Regions from separate parts of the Homo sapiens genome. Here region 2 is linked to region 1. Evidence: promoter capture Hi-C in 16 types of primary human blood cells and fetal thymus (Javierre and others, 2016). All regions are on one chromosome and are shown on one strand. Each heading gives the region's core, a stretch centred on a gene start or on the middle of the fragment in contact. The rest is flanking DNA. Distances are from core to core; before and after follow the strand shown.

Region 1 (7,569 bases), core at 3-2,502:
CAATGCCAGTGTTGGGGTCCCTTTCCCAAGGCGGAATTGCAGCCTTTGCCTTGGAACAGGGCTAAGGCATTCAGACACACGATGGTCTTTCTCTTGCTAATCTCAGCCTTTCTCAGCATTCGTATCAGCAAGGTGGGCTGGGGAAGGTGGCGGCTGGAAGGGAGACAGAAAAGGCCCAGGCCCAGGAGAAGTGGTGGTGGCAGCCTGGGAGCTGGGCTCCATTCTGGCTTGGGATCTTGGTGGCCAGCTTCCTCGGGCCACACCTTTGTTATGGTTCTGTGCGTAGCCAGTCTTCAAAGGAAAAACAAAGCAGAGACTCAAGGTGATTTTATAAATTTTATTAGAAACTTTATATTTCAATACTAATTTCCTTACAAATAGTCTTAACTATAACACTTACTGCCACAGCAGTCTCAGATGGGCAATTTTACCTTTAAAGCTGCAATAATGGTCTTAAGTCTGTATATGAGAGCCTGGCTGATGAAGAGGCTTGGCTTCTGCTCTTGGGGCTGTCATCACATCTAAGAGGAAAACTGCTTTGGAGGATAAGGAAGTCCCTTCACATTGCTGTTCATTGTAAAAGTGGTTATGGTTTTCATACGTTTTTGAATTAAGACTTGCAGCCACTTGCGTGCATAAACGTGAAGGGAATCGCAGCTTGCAAAGCTCTCGGCCAGGGAACATGAGCTTCAAATAAGAGGGCAAATGCTGTTTTTAAAAATAATATTTCCTATTGTAATAGACCCGGGCCGTATTATGTCACGGGTGTGGTGGCTTTTGGCTGGGAACAGCCTGAGCCTCCCTCGGGCCTGGCACAACTCCTTTCGCGAGCGGGCAGCCCAGCGCCTCCCTCGGGAGGCGCCAAGGCGTGGGGGCGCCCGGGGCGCAACTGGCACTCCTGTGGCCCGCCAGGTCCGCGCCAGCCTCCGCGCCTCCGATCTCCGGAGGCCAACGGCCGCAGCCCCGCAGCGGGAGGGGGCTGGCGGAGACAGCGCGGTAGGGGCAGCTTCAGGTTTCCTCCTGGAGCCGGTGTCGGGCGCGGCCGGCGGGCGGGCCTCGCCATGTGATGCGGCCGCCGCGAGCCGGGCCGGGAGGTGGGCAGGCGGGGATCCAGTGGCAGCGGGGAGGCGCGGGGGGAGCGGGGGGAGCGGGGGCGGCACCCGCTGCTGGCGCAGCCAGCCGGGCCCGGGCGCGCGGCCGCGGCTCCACCCCCTAAACCTTGGCTTCAGCCCGGCCGCCGCCAGGCGTTGGCATCGCCGGGGAGAGCCTTCCGGACTCCGGGCGGCGGCTGGCTGGGGGCGCGTTCCGAGGCGCCCTCAGGCAGGGCGCGGGGGCAGAGCCTCGCCTGGGTTCTGGAGGCTGCGGGGCCATCGCTCCAGGTAAATGCTCTTTGGGACTCCATCGTCTGCGTTTCCCTGCAGCTCTGGGCGGAAAAGTTTGTCCACCTGAGTTCGCATCCGCAGGGCCACTTTCTCCAGGGTCCCCAGGGATGCGAGGGTCAGCAGAGGTGACCGGGGAACCGCTGCAGGCGCTGCGGCGCGAGGGCTGGGCGCCGCCTCCCGCTCCCTCGGGAGCGGCAACAAGTGGAGAGGGCGGCGCAGCCTCGTGCGGCGGCGGCAGCTGCGGAGCGCGGGGTCGCTCGGGCGCACTGAGAGCCGGGGGCTGGGCGGGTGAAAGCCCCGCCAGTGTCCTTCGGGAGACAGGGAAATAAACAGCACTCCTGCGGTGGAGAAGGGAGAACGTCGAGAGTTGGTGTCCGCCCTTCCCATCCATGCTTCAGCTCCGGGACTGAGGGTGCTTGGCAGGGCCAGGACCGCAGAATGCAGACGGAACGCAAGCTCAGGACACACGCACTACCACTTACTCGTGTGGAAGCATCTGCTGTGTTTCAAAAGGCATTTATGGTTACCTTGGTTGGGAAAGGTGGTCAGAATTATGTGGGACTCCTTACGCTTATTTTATGGATTTGTTTCCCCTTAAATACCCGGGGTGTATGTGGTGGTGCCCCAGCCTTCCCGTGCTTAGGTTTTCCGAATGACAGGCCGGTGTTTGGCCAAGAAAGCACCATTTGGGTCGAGGGCTGTATGGAAACTGGGTGCTCAGGCGGCCCTGGATACCCAGCTTTGGTTTCCCAGAGACCAGTTAGATTTCTAAGAAAGAATCCATCTCTATAGGCCCACAGCGTCCCCGCATTGGTTGGCTGGGTGGGCCGAGGAACAGTGGCAACATCTGTGTTTGTGCGGCTTCTCCCGCCTTGACCCCTGCCTGGGTATCCACACATCTCCTCACACCAGGAGTTATAGAGGTTCACCACGGACCACACCAATTGGGCAAAATCCAAAGAAAGTAAGATCTTTAATTTTCGTTTATAAAGAACTGATCATTTGGGGTTCCATGGGGCCCCTGGCTTTCTGAAGCGTTGTTATCTTGTGTTCCTAGGCCCTGAAGCTGTCAGGTGTAAGTGAAATCCTGTTTTCACTGCAAAAACAAATCAAGGACCTACCCTTGTTAGGTTCTGTGGCATCTACTTTGTACATGACAATCCAAGCGTAGTGATGACTTCTGGGAAACCTGGGAAGGTTTCTCTAGATCTGTCCTGGGTTTTTAGTTACACATTCCTAAAGCACATGGGTATTTGCCTAATCTTGATTAATAGCCAAAGTAACCCCTTTGGAGTATTTGCAGAAAAGAGATGAATATGGCAAAACCCTTTGGAATTTTTAATACAACATAGTATTTCAATGTAATGTTCTGATGTGGACTCTATATGTGATTATTGGGCTGATTAACTTTGATCAAATAGGAATTTGGCTAGCATCAGATCTTATAGCTAATGGTTAGGGAAACTGAGGCTCAGAGCTAGCTATAGAGTGTGTGACTCAGATGAATGTCTTGGGTAATGGGAGAATGGAGAACAGAGAATCAGTGTTTGTCCTGCTTTTGACTTTTTTTTTTTCCTTATCAAAACCACACAATCTGGCCAACTAAGAACAGGTTGTATAGCAGGCGTGTCATTAGACTTTCCTCTGAAGTACCCAACTGTCCTTTAAGCAGTTTATAAACACTTAAAGGTAAAGAAGAAAAATAGTAGTTAATAACTAAGTTTCTATGAAATGTCTCAGAAGCCTCACTTGGGTGGGTTTCATACTTTTTTTTTTTAATTATGTGAGTACTGCAGAAGAGTTTGGAATGTTTTCTTATTGTGTTCTTATAAGAAACTACACTTGTGGCTAAGACTTAAATTGGGCAGGAATTTCAGGTGAGCTCTGATACATGACCTCCTTTAGTATGCCCCGTGAGAAAAGACTATGTGTTCTAAGTAGGTATTAAAACAAATTGCAGCATATACTATTACTTCTATATTAAACATTCTGTACACCACTATATTGGTACCCAAGCTCCAACAAGTCCTGCCAGTTTATGACCAAGGACTGAATTCCAAGAAAAAAAGATTCATGATATAAATGTTGGAAAAGCCTCACCACTTGGGCATGGCTAGGATGGTACTGAACAGAGCCTAAATTACCTAGGCTGACTATAATTTTATTATGCTTTTATTTACTAATCAGATATGACAGATCTGGTTTGTGTAGGTTTTGTGTAATTGCATTTGTATTTATGTTGCTTTTAGTGAAGCAGAGTAGCTCTGGGATCCCCCCACCGGCCCCCGCCCATAACCTTAAATAAGATTTGTTATGAAGAGGTGGGTCAACCTGGGCAACTCCTACTGAGGATGTAAAAACAGTGTTACATTTGAAGTGCACCAAATTCAGGGAATTCTGCCATGCTAAAGTTGTGCTGTAAATATGCCACCCTGTCAGACTTGAGTCCACATCTCTACTTAGGCAAAGCTGGGCTTTGAGATATTTTTCTTGCTTAAGAAGTGTAGGTCAGGTCCTGTATCACAGAGCATTTTGCTCCATTTGTATGATACTCTGCCATTTTGTCCAGTCTCTGTGACCCTTAGTTCTTTTGTTATTATCATGGTATTGGAAGTTCTCGGAAGCCCAAGGCAGTGTCACTCTACTATTTTGCCATTTTGACAATCTCTATTATGGGGCTCTCTTTCTATGAACATGTTCTTCATTTACATTCATTCAACTAATATTTGTTGAAGTCTTACTATGTGCCCAGCACTGCTCTTTGCTTTGATTCTCTGATCTTTGGATTCCGTGTTGAAGGTGACACTTTTCTGGCTTTAGAGTTTTTAGGGTCTGTTGCATTTTCGGAGTAGACTTTTGCACACTCCACATTAAGACATTTGGCTGGCCAGGGTGGGGGTGGTGGCTCATGCACATAACCCCAACACTTTGAGAGGCTGAAGTGGGAGGATTGCTTGAGCCCAGGAGTTCAAGACCAGCCTGGGCAACATGGCAAAACCCTGTCTCTACAAAAAAAATACAAAAACTAGCCAGGCATGGTGGTGTGTGGTGTGTGCCTATAGTCCCAGCTACTTGAGAGGCAGAGTGGGGAGGATAGCTTGAGTTGGGGAAGTAGAGGCTGCAGTGAGCTGAGATGGTGCCACCACATTTCCAGTCTGGGTGACAGAAAAAGACTCTGTCTCAAAAAAAAAAAAAAATTAAAGACATTTGACTGGCAAAATAAGTCATGTAACTTATTTTTTTAATGTGATAGTGCATCTTCTTAATTGACTTCCATTTTTCCCTTGAAATTTGATCTCAGGCACAATAGTAATTTGCTTATTTGTAACATTATTGCTCCTGGACTTCTTCTCCTGGATAACCAAGATAATGAGATCTGACATCATTTTTTAATGAGAGAAAGTAAAAAAGTATATAATTGAATAGTGGGCATTTGTTCCAGTGATACTGGTTTTGAACACTTGTATAAAAATGTATTTTAATTTTCAGAGGTGTTTTCTCTTGTTTTAGTTTAATCTTTCCCTCAATTATAAATAACTCGAGGTCTGATTTCTGTAGAAAGTTAACATACAAGCGATGTTCTCTTAAGAGCAGATGAAAATGTGTCTATGAGTGAGGACCAACAGGCAGAAATCAGCAGTGGTGGCTTTGCTCTCCATAGTAGCCTGTTCAGAAGAGACCTTTCCAAAGCCAGCAGGCAAATAGCATTCTGCCTATTTCTAGTGGCAAGCTTTGTGTGACTGCTGTGCACATGATCATTGTGCCTTTAAAAAATATACACTTGAAATGTTAATATGCTTCAAATATATATAATAGACATTCCCTTAATAAATAGATGAAGCGTATATTGTATATATTAATGACATTTATGGTTTAGCTTTTCAATTCATTATCAAACACTAGTGACCATGCCCTTTCTGTTTAAGACTTACTCCTTTTCTTCCATCATTTTATAATTCAAGAAATTATATTTCATAAACTCTCATGAAGGGGGTTAGAATGTGGACTTTGGAGCCAGACTGTCTGGGTTAAATAGCCCCAACTTTGCCCTGGCTATGTGACCTCTCTCTACCTCAGGTTTTTCCATTTGTAAAATGCGGATAATAATAGTAACCTGCTTCAACTGTTGTGAGGACTCCGTGATTTAATTTACAGAGAACCCTCCTGGTAGTGCCTGACAGAGAGTAAGTTGTAGTTATAGCAAATGGAAAATAACCATTTAAAAAGGATAAAAGGGTAGCAGGTTTTTCAGCTTTCAGAAGGTAGTGAGATGTCAGTGTGACCCCAGGAGAAATTGCCCTAGGCTGGGAGTTGGAGGAAGGGATGGAGTCCTCTGGCTTTCCAGTTTTGTGACCTTGGGTGAATATTCCTACTGGAACCCTATCTGGTCCCAGTTTCCTCATCCAGTAAAATGGAAAGGATTAGACTGGATGACCTCTAAGAGCAACCCATTTTTTAACATTCTACTCAGTCTTGATGAATTGAATGTGAATGTGATGTATTTGTCAATTTGCTTTACTTGTCTTGGTCAACACTACTGGAAAGGTACTGTCTAAAAGGTTAGCATTGTGCCTGCAATAGGCATTTGAATAGATGATGAGCTGTCACTCTTATTCCTTATCTCTCCTTGACTACCAGACAGTCATCAGGTTTAAATGACTTGGAGTTATCTTCCTGGACTTAGTCCAAAGAGATTTCAGACATGCAAGTCCAGATTCCTTGTGTGGGCCATATGGCTGCCCTAGTCCTCTTCTTCTGAAGAACCCCTCATGTAGAAGAGGGGTGGTATAGCTCTGGAAAGAGGAAAGACAAGTGGGCTGACTGTTTAATTTTATGATAAAAATAATTTCTATCAGGCAAAGAAGTCTCATGAAGGACTTTTAAGTATGGTGAAAAGCAAGAGGTTTCATTGGGCTGGATGGTTCAGACAAAGTCCCTCGGGGGCTTATATTTTTGTCTTTTCCCACTAAGACCCTGATTTACTGTCTGTACATTGTCACTGGTTCTTTTTCAACAGTGCTTCTCCTTTTCTTGCTTCACCAGCCTCCTGGTTTGCTGTATGATCAGGTGTTAGAGTTCTGAAAGGTAGAGGATATTCAGTGATTAATGAGACTACTGACTATGGGTTCTTTACTTTGAGCCTCTAACCCAGGATTTCAAGCCCTGTTGTTCACTGGAACCACCTGGGTTCAGAATCTCTCAAGTGGACCTGGCATCATTTTCTAAAGAGGTGATTCTAATGTACAGCTGGGTTTGATAGCTACTTTCCTAATCTTTAGGTGTTTCTGGCTTCCTACATTGCACAGTGCCTAGGGAAAGGGTAACACCTGCTATTTCTCATGGTGTTACTGTTATGCTGTTGGTGTGTCAACTGCCTCCTGCTGTTTCTCCCTTGTGAACTCTCCAGTTCTGTTAGCCAGGACTAGTACTGCCTATGGAACATGTTGTGTGTTTCTGACTTCTTTGACTTTTTCCTAGTGGGCCCCTTTTCCTCCCTTGCCAACAAGTATTGCAGTCCTCAAAGCCCAGCTTAAACCACTTTCTGCCTGTAACCTTCAACTAACTTAGTAGCAACTGTGCTGCTTTCCCTTTTGAACTCCTACCACCCTCTCATTTTTTACTTACCACCTGTCCCTGGGTTCATTTTGTGTTCCTGTATATAAGTCTCAACTTTACATCGTGACTGTAGCCCATTAATGACAGGGACCCTGATTTAGGCTACTTTGTAGGGTGCTCAAAGTAGAATATACACGTGTTGGTCAGTTATTTAGTTATTTTGCTAACTGTCGTCTCAAGTCCTTCTTGTTTGCAGCACCACTGCAAGTACTAGTGGTGGTGTTTTCCTGGGTATCCGATGTGGATTGCGTTGGAAAACACTGGGGTACAGGGGGAGGAGGGCAAAGTTTGCTCAGGAATTAGACAGTTAGTCCTTCCCAGATGTAAATGGGAGACCTCATGGACCTCTCTGAGGAAACTGTATCAACCTGCATGGGGAAATGAATGAAATTCTTGATTAAAATCTGAGTCTTTGGATTGAAAGAAACCTAAAAGTTTTTCTCTAGTCTCCAGAAGGTGCACAATTCCCCTGCATGGCCTATCTCCAAATGGTTGACCAGTCTGTCCTTGAATACCTTCAGTGATGAGGACCTCATGACCATAAAGATAATCCATCTATTTGGAAAGCTTA
Region 2 (6,934 bases), core at 1,632-4,131, 1.0 Mb after region 1:
GAAAAGGAAAATATTTAGAATTGACTAGAAAAGGCTATTAAGTAGCTAGTTCATCAATCATTTCATGGACTTTGTAAACAAAAATGAATCCTGAATAAAGCTGGGCCACCTTGGGGTTGGTCTCAGCTGAGCATTGTGTCCAAAAGAATCATGACTCCAACTCCAAAAAAGCCTTGCAACTTAATGTAAGAAGTCCCTTGGAGGCCGGGCACAGTGGCTCACACCTGTAACCCCAGCACTTGGGGAGGCCTAGCCGGGTGGATCACTTGAGGTCAGCAGCGTGGATCACTTGAGGTCAGCAGTTCGAGACCAGCCTGGCCAACATGGTGAAACTCCGTCTCTACTAAAAATACAGAAATTAGCTGGGTGTGGTGGTGGGCACCTGTAATCCCAGCTACTCAGGAGGCTGAGGCAAGAGAATCACTTGAACCCGGGAGGCACAGGTTGCAATGAGCTGAGATCACACCACTGCACTGAAGCCTGGATGACAGAGTGAGACTCTGTCTCAAAAAATAAAATAAAATAAAATAAAATAAAATAAAATAAAATAAAATAAAATAAAATAAAATAAAAGTCAGGAGAAGCAGATGAGGAACCACATTGCACACATTGCATGACACAGAGTGGAACGTTCTAAAATCTTTTTGTTTTGAGATGGAGTCTCCCTCTTTCGCCCAGGCTGTAGTGCAGTGGCATGATCTTGGCTCACTGCAACTTCCACCTCCTGGGTTCAAGGTTCAAGCAATTCTCCTGCCTCAGCCTCCTGAGGAGCTGGGATTACAGGCACATGCCACCACACCCAGCTAATTATTGTATTTTTAGTGGAGACGGGGTTTCACCATGTTGCCCAGGCTGGTCTTGAACTCCTGGCCTCAGGTGATCCACCCGCCTCAGCCTTCCAAAATGTTGGGATTACAGGTGTGAGCCACCACGTCCAGCCTCTAAAACCTTTTTCCAAAGTCTCTCTCATCTCAGTAACAGCCCCCCTTGCTGCTGCTTCGTTGGCTGTGCCCTCTGGATTCCATTGCTTTCCACAGTCACTCCATAACCTTTCTGATAGGAACCCTTTAGCCTCTCAGCTCCCTCTAAGGCTCTTCCACAGTCACCCCTGGTCAACACAGCGACAAGAACAGGAGGCAACACAGAACCTCCCAGACTGTTGGTGGGGAGGGGTCGTGTGTGTGAATTTTTGTTGTCCCTGATAAATGTACACTTTATACCCTCCAGTGGCTTCCATCTCCTTTCCATGAGCCACAAGGCCCTACTTATCCAGTCTCATCTCTGTTCCAGCCACACTGGCTGCCCTGTTTGTCCCCAGATACCCACCACTCTCCAGCCTCAGGACACTGGCACTTACTGTTCTTCTGCCTGGAACTTTTACCATAAATAACCAAGTGACCAGGTCTTTCCTTTCATTCAACTCTCTGCTCAGATAACTCCTATTAGCGAGCCTGTCCCTGAGCTCCTGGTCTAAAATAGCAACCTCCTTGCTCTCCATCCCTTCACCCTGCTGGATTTTCCTTCGGAGCACTTATCACCACTTCACAATGTCTGTTTATTTATTATTTACAACTCCCACAAGGAAGCAAGCTCCACATGGGGAAGAACTTTGTCTATTTTGCTCTCGGCTGATTCCTCATGCACAAAAAATATTTGTTAAATAAAATGAATGGAGAGTTAGCTATTCATCAAAATTTTATTAGAAAGCTAATAAACCCTTAAATAAGAATGTGTTTTCCTTTGAACACTTGACGCTTGTTATTTGTGTAGTCACATGGTTTCTAAAGATCTCTGTGTCCTAGATGCTCCTTTTGCTGCTGTTGTGGCCTCTGTGCCTCACATGTCATGTGGCGTCTTCTGATCTCAGCCTATGTTACCCTTTTGTTGTATATAACAGCCTATGTTACGCTTTTGTTGTATATGAAGTCCGGGTTTTTCAGTCCACTTTCCGATTCAAGCTACTTGGTCTCTTTGAATCCCCTAAGCCTTTGCTCCCAAGAATCTCCAGTGCAAGTGTTCACAGACTGTGACCTAGTTGATGGCAGGTCATCAGCTTCCAGAAATGTCTACTGCCTGTGAATCCCTAGGGTACTGGCATCTTGAAATACTGAAGGCCCCAGAGCCCTTGCCTTGCCAGCACGTCTGATGTCTGTGAGCTTTGGGAACTAGCAGCACTGAGGGCTTCAGCACATGTGCCTCCCAGCATTAGGAGGGCATTCCTGGTGAGAAGGAAAATGGGCCTCAAAGCAACTGCATTTGAAGGCTGGCACCCATGAACACATTTCCTCCTCCAGAATGTCCCTGATGGCCTCTCTTACTGAGCACTCTCCCAGAAGCACCACCACAGATGTCAATAATAACTAAAAAGCAAAGCATTCTGCATGGTAAAGAATTTCGCCTTGCCCAAAGACAGGTCAGCCTTTGCCCTGAGCTGCTTTCTTTGTTTAGGGCAGGGCCTGGACCCACCAGATCTTAGGATGGAGCCAGTCACACCAGAGAGGCCATTTATGTAACTGAGAGTAGAGGCTTTGGGTCACATGGTATCAGTTGACCTAGAGGCTAAGATCAGCTAGGTGGGCAATCAATCAATCAATCAGTCATGCATATGTCTCGGGGCCGCAATAAAACTCCTGAACACTGAGGCTCAAGTAAGCTTCCCTGGGTGGTAATATCCCTTATGTATTATCACTCTTGGGTACCAGGGAAATAATGTGTCCTAGGAATGACAGAAGATTCACTTTTGGAACCTTCCTAAACTCTGCCCTATGCATCTCTTCCTTTGGCTGATTTTAATCTGTATCCTAATCTGTATCCTTTTCCTGCGATAACTAGGAGCATAATAGCTTTTGGTGGGTTCTGAAGTCCTTCTAGTGAATTCTCAAATCTGAGAATGATTTAGGGAACCCACCCTCTAAACTTGCAGTTGGTGTCAGAAGTAAGGCCAATCTTAGGTACTATGTCCTTGAGCCTCACAGTTTGGCTAACTGTGGGTATATCCCCACACCATGAGAAGACTGGAGCTTCTGCTCCAATATGTTTCAATTCAGTACAATATGTAGCTTTCTCCTTGCATTTAACTTTCATTTTAATATATCTTTATATCACATTTAAAAGCTTTTGTGGGAAAAAGAGACTTTTAAAACTGGAAAAAAAAAACTTGTCTTTGGTACTTATATGATATTTGCATCAGTAATCCCAACATACTTTGAGAATACTGAATTTTGAAATTATTTCCCAGAGATGTATAAATTTTTCACCATAAGTCACCTGCCTGAGACCTCACAGCGTTCATGGCAAAACTAAGAACAGAACATGCAGTGCCTGATTTCTTAGTCTGCCCAATAGACCATGGTCAGGGCCAGGAGCACATTAAGCTTGAAACACGCTGGACAGCACACAATCCCCAGTGCAGGGCAGGTGGAGGGCTGATCCTGGAGGAGACAAGGCCACTTGTCTGTCTCAGGGAAATTACAAAAATGATAGCGGGGAAGCCACAGGTGATTCTAAACTCAAAGTTATTGCAGGGTAGTGAAATATGAGTCAGTTAGCAGCAGACATGAAAGTAGAAAGAAAAAATAGAAGGTGTAAAGAAGGATGGGAAGGTTCTTAGAAGATGTGAATATGGAGAAAAAGTGGGGTGGGCCTCCAATAGAAGAAAGGTAAGCGTGAGAGCTGGAGAATAAGCCCAGCTCATTCCTGCTCTGGGAAAAACCATGGATTTTGCTAAATTCTTTCTCCCTTATCTTTTCAATCAGCCAACACTTAACTCTAGGGGACTTCAGCAAAAACTAATATTGCACATGAAGTGCTCTTCTTCAACCCAGGAAATTGAATTTTGATGAGAATAAATGAAATTTAAACCTTAAAACTTTGCTAAATATCTGAAATTTAGTATCATACTTCTGAAGTCAAAGCAAACTCTTAGCGTAGAAATAATGTTCTTTTCCACCTTGAGGATGAAGGGCAGAAGGGGAGGGTGAGGGGAAATGCTCTGTCTATAACTGATGGAATGGAGAGGATTAGGAGACAAAGGCAGAGAGGACATCATCACCTTTACTCAGCAAGAAGCAAAGGGAGAGGAGAGACCCTAATCTTTGTAAAAAAAATAAATGAATAAATAAAGGGACATTTGGAAAAGGAAGAAAGAGGAGGACAGTGGGGTGCAGGGACTCTCAACTTAGCTGGGCTCACTCATCTCATGCCCAACAGCCATTCCTCCCTGATAGCCAAACTCTAATTGTATCCCAAACAATATGTTCAGCCCTAAATAATGACTTGTGATTGATCAAAGCCAACGATTACAATCCTGTTCCTGTTACCAGGCAGTTGATTTCCCAGCCTCCCTTTTAATGAGGAGTAGCTGTGTGACTCAGCTTGTGACAAAGAAATGTAAAAGGAAGCCTGCTAGGAGGTATCTGGGAAAATTTTTGCTTTTCTGTTAAAAGAGGCTGATATGGCTGATGCCACCTCTCTCCCTCTTCCTGCTTCAAACATAGGTCATGATGCCTGAAGCTGTGGCAGCCAGCTTGTAGCTATAAGGGACAAAACAAGAGTGTCACAGGGACACCAGCCATAATATCATCAAGCCACTAAATGGAGCCATCAGCTCCCACTCCAGATGCTCCCAATCCCAGTCAATGAGAAGAATTAGAACTTGTTTGCCTAAGCTACCCTTGGTTGTATCTGTTCTTCCTAGCAGCAGCTGAATGCAATCCCAATACAAAACTCATATTCTAAGAAAATGTTGCCTTTATGACTGGTAAAATCATATTTTGATTACCACTGGAAAAAAAACATAAAAAATGTTCTAGTGCTCACAGATCTCATCAAAGAGGCCTCTGATCCCTGGGGATACACAAATTGCCATTCGAGAAGAACCAAGCTAAGCCAGAGAAGCAACTACAGACAAGTAAGAAAGACAAGGCATTGACTGGAAGAAAAAGATCAACTCGAGAAAGCAAAAATATAGGAAAAAGACACCGGGCATAACAGCATCTCACTTGTAAAGGGAACATGGCAACAAGAAATCCATGGGTCAGTGAGAGAGAGAGAGAGAGAGATAGAGAGAGAGAGAGAGTGGCCTTCACCCTTCATTCCAGACAGCACCAGCTGGAGCCACAGTGAGCCACATGTCTGTGGGCGTCGGGGGCTGCTGAGAAGTTGCCTCTCTGGCTTTTGGGATGACAAGCCCAGAGCTATAGCACAGGCCAGTTGCTTCTGTAATAAGCATTTGTTAGATCACCCTAGCCTTCCAGAAGCTGAACATAAATCGAAATCCACAGTCCTTGAAATCAAGAGTTATCCTCTGACTGAGAACGAGAATGGGGTGAAATCAACAAAAATGAAAAGGAAAATCAGGAAAAACAGGAGGCAAGCCAGCTGGGGACCCATGTCTTCCTCTATCTTCAGAAATCTTTACTCCTTTAGTCCTGAACAGCATGACTCATATTTTTTTAAATAATATTTTCTATTGTTTTAGGACCTTTTGATTGAAGACAGTGGTGTTACAACAAAGAAGTCATGAATTCATTTTCTCTCTCTCTGTGTGTGTGTGTGTGTGTGTGTGTGTGTGTGTGTGTGTGTGTGTGTGTGTCTCTCTCTCTCTCTCTCTCTTTCATCTTGCCAATGTTGCCTAGACTGATCTCAAACTCCTGGCCTCAAGGGATCCTCCCACCTCAGTCTCCCAAAGGGCTGGGATTAAGGGTACAAGCCAGAACATCTGGCCTGCATGACTTATATTTGAAACTGAGTTCTACTTAAAGGAAATCCAATACGTAAAATTCCAAACCTACAAAACAAATTGAAAGATCAATAACTTTTTAAGTGGATAGTTCATTTTCCATACTGCAGGTTTTCTTCATAAAATGAGTTTTCCTAGTACATTTACTCCAAGATTTGAATTAAGCAGGAGTCTTGAGCAGCCTGGCCACATATAGCCAAATACCAAGTGCTTCCTGGTTCACAAAATGACCTGTTTGTCCTCATGACAACCTTATTTGATCTTTATGACAACCCTACGATTACGAGAGGAATAGATACTCTTTCCAGAATGTTTTTTGTTCAAAGAACAAACATTCATTTAAAAAATAGGCTTACTTTTAGCTGAGCATTAAATAAATGTGTTCATTGTAGAGAAGCAGAAAGAAAAAAAGAAATCCTCCATACCCCAGAGAAAACCACCATGATTTTAAGCTTTTTTTTTTCAGTCTTTGTGCTGTGCACAGACATGGTAATACTCATTAGACAATTTTATTTTCAGAAGTTTTTCACCTAACATTATAACATGAATATTTTCTCAGGATATTCAGCTACTCTTACTGTCATTTTTCATGATTGCACAGTATAATTTCCATAATTATTTCTAATAATTGAAATGCTTCTTTGCCCATTTTGTTTTGAGTTACTCTGTGAGTGTCATTTAAGCAAAAATGTAAATGAATTATGCTACTAGAAAATGTAATAAGCTAATCATTCTCCCTATTGTTGAGGTTTGCTTCCTACCAATTATTCTCTGATCAACATCTTTATGTATAACTCTTTTTCTATATCTCAGGTGAATTTTTTTAGAATAAATTACTGGAGATGGAGCTACTGGTCCAAAAGGAATAGATGTTTTAAGGTGCTGTTTGCAAAAGTGCTTCCCAAAATGACTGTACCAATCTACATTCTCAAAATATCCCTTTGACCACACTGTCACCAGCATGGAGTAAGCATTTTAAGAAACATTTGCTTATTTATAGGTAAAAATCATATTTTATTATTATATTAATATGCACAGTTTTATCTCTGAGTTTGAACACCTTTCCAGAAATGTATTAACCAGCTATAATTTGGTTTTTTGTAAAGGATGTGGTCCTAGAGCAGAAACAAACCTCATTTTACTGCTGAGGAAACAAAACCTGGAGGAATTTAAGCCATTTCCCCAAGGCTAAAC

The links. The method cuts DNA at HindIII sites, captures the fragments that hold promoters and counts their contacts. A CHiCAGO score of 5 or more calls a contact.
Region 2: a fragment that was not itself captured here is called in contact with the fragment with the promoter of ARHGEF28 in region 1 in 1 of 17 cell types (M0 macrophages); the score reaches 5.0 in M0 macrophages.

Annotation. Positions count from the first base shown.
Region 1 is chr5:73,624,944-73,632,512 of GRCh38, forward strand. ARHGEF28 (Rho guanine nucleotide exchange factor 28) reads left to right here and starts at 1,253. Exons shown (of 36, transcript NM_001177693.2): 1 at 1,253-1,379. RefSeq lists a silencer at 962-1,051. The HindIII fragment of the contact is 6,049 bases long and covers 1-5,110 here.
Region 2 is chr5:74,655,972-74,662,905 of GRCh38, forward strand. It overlaps a transcript of HEXB not described here. Among named protein-coding and RNA genes, the nearest start is that of ENC1, 19 kb to the left of the region's middle. The HindIII fragment of the contact is 461 bases long and covers 2,652-3,112 here.